2 separate regions of the Homo sapiens genome follow, and region 2 is linked to region 1. Evidence: promoter capture Hi-C in human tissues and cell types (Jung and others, 2019). All regions are on one chromosome and are shown on one strand. Each heading gives the region's core, a stretch centred on a gene start or on the middle of the fragment in contact. The rest is flanking DNA. Distances are from core to core; before and after follow the strand shown. Region 1 holds the start of RAB40C (RAB40C, member RAS oncogene family). Region 2 overlaps AXIN1 (axin 1).

The links. Contacts are between HindIII fragments. The study calls those that stand out against the background at their distance.
Region 2: a fragment that was not itself captured here is called in contact with the fragment with the promoter of RAB40C in region 1 in 2 of the 25 tissues and cell types used here (IMR-90 fibroblasts and dorsolateral prefrontal cortex).

What each region holds. Positions count from the first base shown.
Region 1 is chr16:588,802-591,876 of GRCh38, forward strand. It overlaps RAB40C (RAB40C, member RAS oncogene family), which reads left to right and starts at 1,265. Exons shown (of 6, transcript NM_021168.5): 1 at 1,265-1,632. The coding sequence starts at 1,491. RefSeq lists an enhancer at 1-781 and silencers at 126-435, 756-815, 826-875, 946-1,065, 1,156-1,475. The HindIII fragment of the contact is 16,228 bases long and covers 1-3,075 here.
Region 2 is chr16:340,908-343,776 of GRCh38, forward strand. The region is part of intron 2 of AXIN1 (axin 1); the gene reads right to left. Among named protein-coding and RNA genes, the nearest start is that of AXIN1, 10 kb to the right of the region's middle. RefSeq lists an enhancer at 558-1,109. The HindIII fragment of the contact is 5,555 bases long and covers 1-2,869 here.

The DNA.
Region 1 (3,075 bases), core at 15-2,514:
CTTACGACTGTAACAGCGCTACTGAACGCAGAGCACGTATCACAAAGCTCACCCGTTCCGAGTGAGTAACTTCACCGAGAGAGGCAGGACCATCCCCACGACGGTAGGACCTTCTCGTCACCCCAGAAAGAACCACGTGCCCACTCAACCCCCGACCCCACGCCGGGGCCCGCGGACGCAGCCGCCTCGCTCGCCCACGCACCTGCGGCAGCCGGGCCCGGCAGGGACGAGGGCTCGGCGGCGCCCCCGGGAAGAGCGCGGTCCGGGCCCTGGGTCCCCGTCCAGGAGGCGCCGCTGCCGCAGTGAGCACGTCGGGCCGGGTCTTGAGCTCGCGCCGGCCGCGCTCCCCGCGTCCCGAGCTGTGGCGGCCGCGTCCCCGGGCGGAAGGCTCACGCTCGGTGACGCCGCGCTGTCCCAGAACCTCAGCGACTTTGCAGACTCACTGGTGACCCAACGGTGCGCCCCGCCGCCGCCGGGCGGAAGTCCCGCCCCTGCCCCGGAGAGGAAGTTCCGCCTCATCGAGCGCCGATTGGCCGCACCGCCTTAGAGAGGACGCGCCCGGGGCCACCCCGCCGCTCCCTCCGAGGGTTCTGCGGAAGCAGGCGGCACAGCCTGCGAGGGGCTTTCGTTTCCCGGACTCAGCCGCATCGCCTCGGCTCGGGCGCGCCTGCATCCTGCCGCCCGTCCGCGCGTTGAAGGGGCGGATACAAACAACGTGGACTTCCGAGCCCCTGATTGGCGAGCGTGTAGGAAAGGGGCGGGGTTAGCAGAGCCGTGATGGACATGCAAGCGACCCAATGGCGCCGGCGACGGGGCGGGCGAGGACAACGGCGTTGTGGGCCGGGGGCGGGGCGGCCGGCGGCTCTGGGATTTCTCTGGGAGGCAGCCGCAGGGAAGGGAATGATCTTGGTGAACTTATAATCGAACCAATGGTTCCGGGAAAGCAGGAGGCGAGTGGCCAATGGCGACGGCGATGAGGCAGGCGTCCGCTGTCTCCGCAACGCCGTGTGGGAAAGGCGGGGGAGGGGCGGTCATGACAGACGTGCAGACAGGCCAATGGCTGAGGGAAGGAGGGCGGCGGGCGACCTCTGGTGACTACGGGAAGGCAGGGCGGGGTGGTGAAGAGGCGGTGCGACCGGAGGTCTGGCGGCGCCGTGTGGAACGCCGTGAGGGCGGGGAAGTCGTGACGGACGGGCGGGTGGGCCAATGGGCTCGGGAGGGCGGGCGAAGGGTGGCCAATGGCGGCGGCGCGGCCGGGGGTGGGGCGGCGCGGCGGCCCTGGTGGTGCGGGAAGCGGCGGGGCGGCGGCGAGGCTGAGGTGCGCCCGGGCGCGGGCGGGGCGGGGCCGGCGCTGGGCTTCGGGCGCGCCCACTCGGCCGCCGTGGGGCGGACGCAACGGGCGCAGGTGCGGGGCGCGGGCTCTCTCACGCCGCGGCCTCACCCGGCGGTGCTTCGGCAGGCGGCCGGCGCGGGGCGCAGGCGGCGCGGCCATGGGCTCGCAGGGCAGTCCGGTGAAGAGCTACGACTACCTGCTCAAGTTCCTGCTGGTGGGCGACAGCGACGTGGGCAAGGGCGAGATCCTGGAGAGCCTGCAGGACGGCGCGGCAGAGTCCCCGTACGCCTACAGTAACGGTAAGGCCCGGCCCGCGGCGCGCGCTGCTACGCGGGGCCCGAGCCCGGCGAGCTGGGCACGGAGCTCGCCCTCGGCCCGGCCCTTCCAAGCGCCGCCGAACGTTCCCAGGAACGCCTTTGCCTGGCTTCCAGACTCGGTAGCTCGGTGGCTGCGGGGTGCCCGTGCTCCAGTCCCGAGGTGACGCCGGGGGGCAGGAGGACGGACCAGAGGGACGCGCCCAGCGGGGACGGTGCCATGGACCCGGGGTCTGGGGGACGGTGTCACGGGTCCGGGATCTCAGGGGAAGGTGTCATGGGTCCGGGATCTGGAGCCCAGGGGAAGGTGTCATGGGTCCTAGAGAAGGTGTCATGGGCCTGGGGAAGGTGTCATGGGTCTAGGATCATCTGGGGTCCGAGGGAAGGTGTCATGGGCTCGGGGGAAGGTGTCGTGGGCCGGAGGGAAGGTGTCATGGGTGCAGGATCTGGGGTCTGGGAGAAGGTGTCATAGGTCCGAGGGAAGGTGTCATGGGTCCAGGATCTGGGGTCCGGGGAAAGATGTCATGGTCCCGGTAGAAGGCGTCATGGGCCAAAAGGAAGGTGTCATGGGTCTAGGATCATCTGGGGTCCGAGGAAAGGTGTCATAGATCTGGGGGAAGGCATCATGGTCCTAAGGGAAGCTGTCATGGGTCTGGGATCATCTGGGGTCCGAGGGAAGGTGTCATAGATCTGGGGAAAGGTGTCATGGGTCTGGGATCTCAGGGGAAGGTGTCATGGGCCTAAGGGAAGGTGTCATGGTCTGGGATCTCAGGGGAAGGTGTCATGGGTCTAGGATCATCTGGGGTCTGAGGGAAGGTGTCATAGATCTGGGGGAAGGCATCATGGTCCTAAGGGAAGGTGTCATGGGTCTGGGATCATCTGGGGTCCGAGGGAAGGTGTTATAGATCTGGGGAAAGGTGTCATGGGCCCGGGGAAGGTGTCACGGACCCAGGTCTGGTGGCAGGTGCTGCTGGGCTGCTCTTGGGACCCTGTCTCGAGCGTGCACAGATGACAGGTCCTTATAGGCACGCTGTTCCCCTGAGGTATTTGCTTACTGCTGAGGGAGTCAACGCTTTGTGCTAGAAGAAAATACCTCTGTAATGAGTTACTGAACATTTGTTTTGTTTTGTTTTCTTTTCTTTTCTTTCTTTTTTTTTTTTTTGAGACGGAGTCTCACTCTGTCGCCAGGCTGGAGTGCAGTGGCACAATTTCAGCTCACTGCAACCTCCGCCTCCTGGGTTCAAGCGATTCCCCTGTCTCAGCCTCCCGAGTAGCTGGGACTACAGGTGTATGCCACCACGCCCGGCTAATTTTGTTGTGTGTATTTTAGTAGAGACGGGGTTTCAGCATGTCGGCCAGGATGGTCTCAATCTCCTGACCTCATGATCTGCCCACCTCGGCCTCCCAAAGTGCTGGGATTACAGACGT
Region 2 (2,869 bases), core at 212-2,711, 250 kb before region 1:
ACTCAGGCGTCCCACAGGGGAACTGGATGCCTGTGGCCGTGCTGGACCGCAGCAGCCCCACCGCAGGGGATGAGCGACTGTGGCAGAGATGCAGGCAAAGTAGCCTCCAGGACAGAGGGGTCAGCACCCGAGGGCTGGCCCTCCTGGCACGTTCCTCCACGCAAATTCCACCCCGGTGAGAGGTGACAGCGTGCTGGCAGTCCTCACAGCCCTCGCTCGCTCTCAGCGCCTCCTCTGCCTGGGCTCTCACTTTGGTGGCACTTGAGGAGCCCTTCAGCCCACCACTGCACTGTGGGAGCCCCTTTCTGGGCTGGCCAAGGCCGGAGCCGGCTCCCTCAGCTTGCGGGGAGGTGTGGAGGGAGAGGCGCGAGCGGGAACCGCGGCTGCATGCGCTTGCAGGCCAGCTGGAGTCCCGGGTGGGCGTGGGCTTGGTGGGCCCGGCACTCAGAGCAGCCGGCCAGCCCTGCCGGCCGCGGGCAATGAGGGGCTTAGCACCCGGGCCAGCGGCTGCGGAGGGTGTGCTGGGTCCCCCGGCAGTGCCGGCCCACCGGAGCTGCGCTCAATTTCTCGCTGGGTCTTAACTGCCTTCCTGCAGGGCAGGGCTCGGGAGCTGCAGCCCGCCATGCCTAAGCCCCCCACCCCCTCCGTGGGCTCCTGTGCGGACCGAGTCTCCCCGACGAGCGCCCGGTCCCATTGACCACCCAAGGGCTGAGGAGTGCGGGCGCACGGCACGGGACTGGCAGGCAGCTCCACCTGCAACCCCGGTGCGGGATCCACTGGGTGAAGCCAGCTGGGCTCCTGATTCTGGTGGGGACGTGGAGAACCTTTATGTCTAGCTCAGGGACTGTAAATACACCAATCGGCACTCTGTATCTAGCACAAGGTTTGTAAACACACCAATCAGCACTCTGTGTCTAGCTCAGGGTTTGTGAATGCACCAATCGACACTCTGTATCTAGCTACTCTGGTGGGGACTTGGAGAACCTTTGTGTGGACACTCTGTATCTAGCTAATCTGGTGAGGATGTGGAGAAGCTTTGTGTCTAGCTCAGGGATTGTAAACGCACCAATCAGCGCCCTGTCAAAACAGACCACTGGACTCTACCAATCAGCAGGATGTGGGTGGGGCCAGATAAGAGAATAAAAGCTGGCTGCGGGAGCCAGCAGTGGTAACTCGCTCGGGTCCCCTTCCATAGTGTGGAAGCTTTGTTCTTTCTCTCTTTCCAGTAAGTCTTGCTGCTGCTCACTCTTTGGGTCCACACTGCCTTTATGAGCTGTAACACTCACCGCGAAGATCTGCAGCTTCACTCCTGAAGCCAGTGAGACCACGAACCCACCAGAAGGAAGAAACTCCGAACACCTCCGAACGTCAGAAGGAACAAACTCCGGACAGGCCGCCTTTAGGAACTGTAACACTCACGGCAAGGGTCCGCGGCTTCATTCTTGAAGTCAGTGAGACCAAGAACCCACCAATTCCGGACACACCGGGACGACTAACCGGCTCTCCACAGGATATGCATCCCCTAACACGTGAGGCCTAAGCTCCAGGCCCTGCTGTGGTAGCAATGCTCACCAGCCGCCTGTTCAGTACCCACTCTCCTTTTCCCTTTGCATTACCCGCAGCCTTCCTTTGGAGGACTGCCCCCAGCTCCCCACTGGGGAGCAGCCGTCTGTCTGGGTGGAGAACCCACTTTCCTTCAGGAGTGACCCTGCTGCACAGCCCCCAGCGCACGCACCGTGACTGTGCTGAGACAGACGGGACACAGCGGCACACGTGCCCTCCTCAGAGCAACAGCGGGCCCATCCGTCAGAGCTGCGGGAAGCATCTGTAAACAAGGGAGCCCAGAGCCCAAGGTCACTGCAGCAGCCACCTCCAACACAAAGCCCACGAAGTCGCCCACCAGGCAGGCAAAGTCAGAATGGCACAAAGCAAAGGTGCCAGGCCCTAAGGCACACCTGAGGCTCTGCCTCAACAGTGCCCTTCAGGGTTGGGCTCAGGTGGGTGGGTTTCCACGACTTCCAACCTAGTGCACCCTCACCTACACCTGGCAGGACAAAGAGAATGGTCTAAATGTGAGGAACGCAGCCTGGACTTCATGCCCTGTCTGTGCTGACAAGCAACCATTCCAACATCAGAGATCTTCAAGCCACAAGGCTGCACCACAGGCCACCTCCCACAGAGAGGATTCAACCGCAGACACGACTCCCAAGCCCCAGGGTCCTCTGCCACCAGCAGCCCCAGAGCAGTCAAGTTAGGACCCAAACTGTGTAGACAGAGCTACACAAAATTAGACAGGAGAAGCCAATGTATCCCACTAATTTCATAGCAAAGGTTCCTTATTACAAATACAGCAAACCAAGGACAGACAGCAAAGCTACTGCTCGCAGCCAAGAACTGAAGAGTGGCTGGGAGGGAGGCACTGGGGTTCCAACAGTGGAAATCAGAACGGAGCTCATTTTCCTCCTGCAGCCCAGCCCTCAACTTCAGTCCCATCTTAAAAATAACCAGCCGGGGCCGGGCGCAGTGGCTCACACCTGGAATCCCAGCACTTTGGGAGGCTGAGGCGGGCAGATCTCTTGAGGAAAGGAGTTCGAGACCAGACTGGCCAACGTGGTAAAACCCCATCTCTACTAAAAATACAGAAAATTAGCTGGGCATGGTAGCTCACACTTGTAATCCCAGCTACTCGGGAGGCTGAGGCAGGAGACTCACTTGAACCCAGGAGGCAGAGGTTGCAGTGAGCTGAGATTGCACTACTGCACTCCAGCCTGGGCGACAGAGCGAGACTCCATCTCAAACAAAAAAACAAGCAAAAAAAATAACCAGCCAGGTGCAGTGGCTCCCACCCGTAATCCCAGCACTTTGGGAG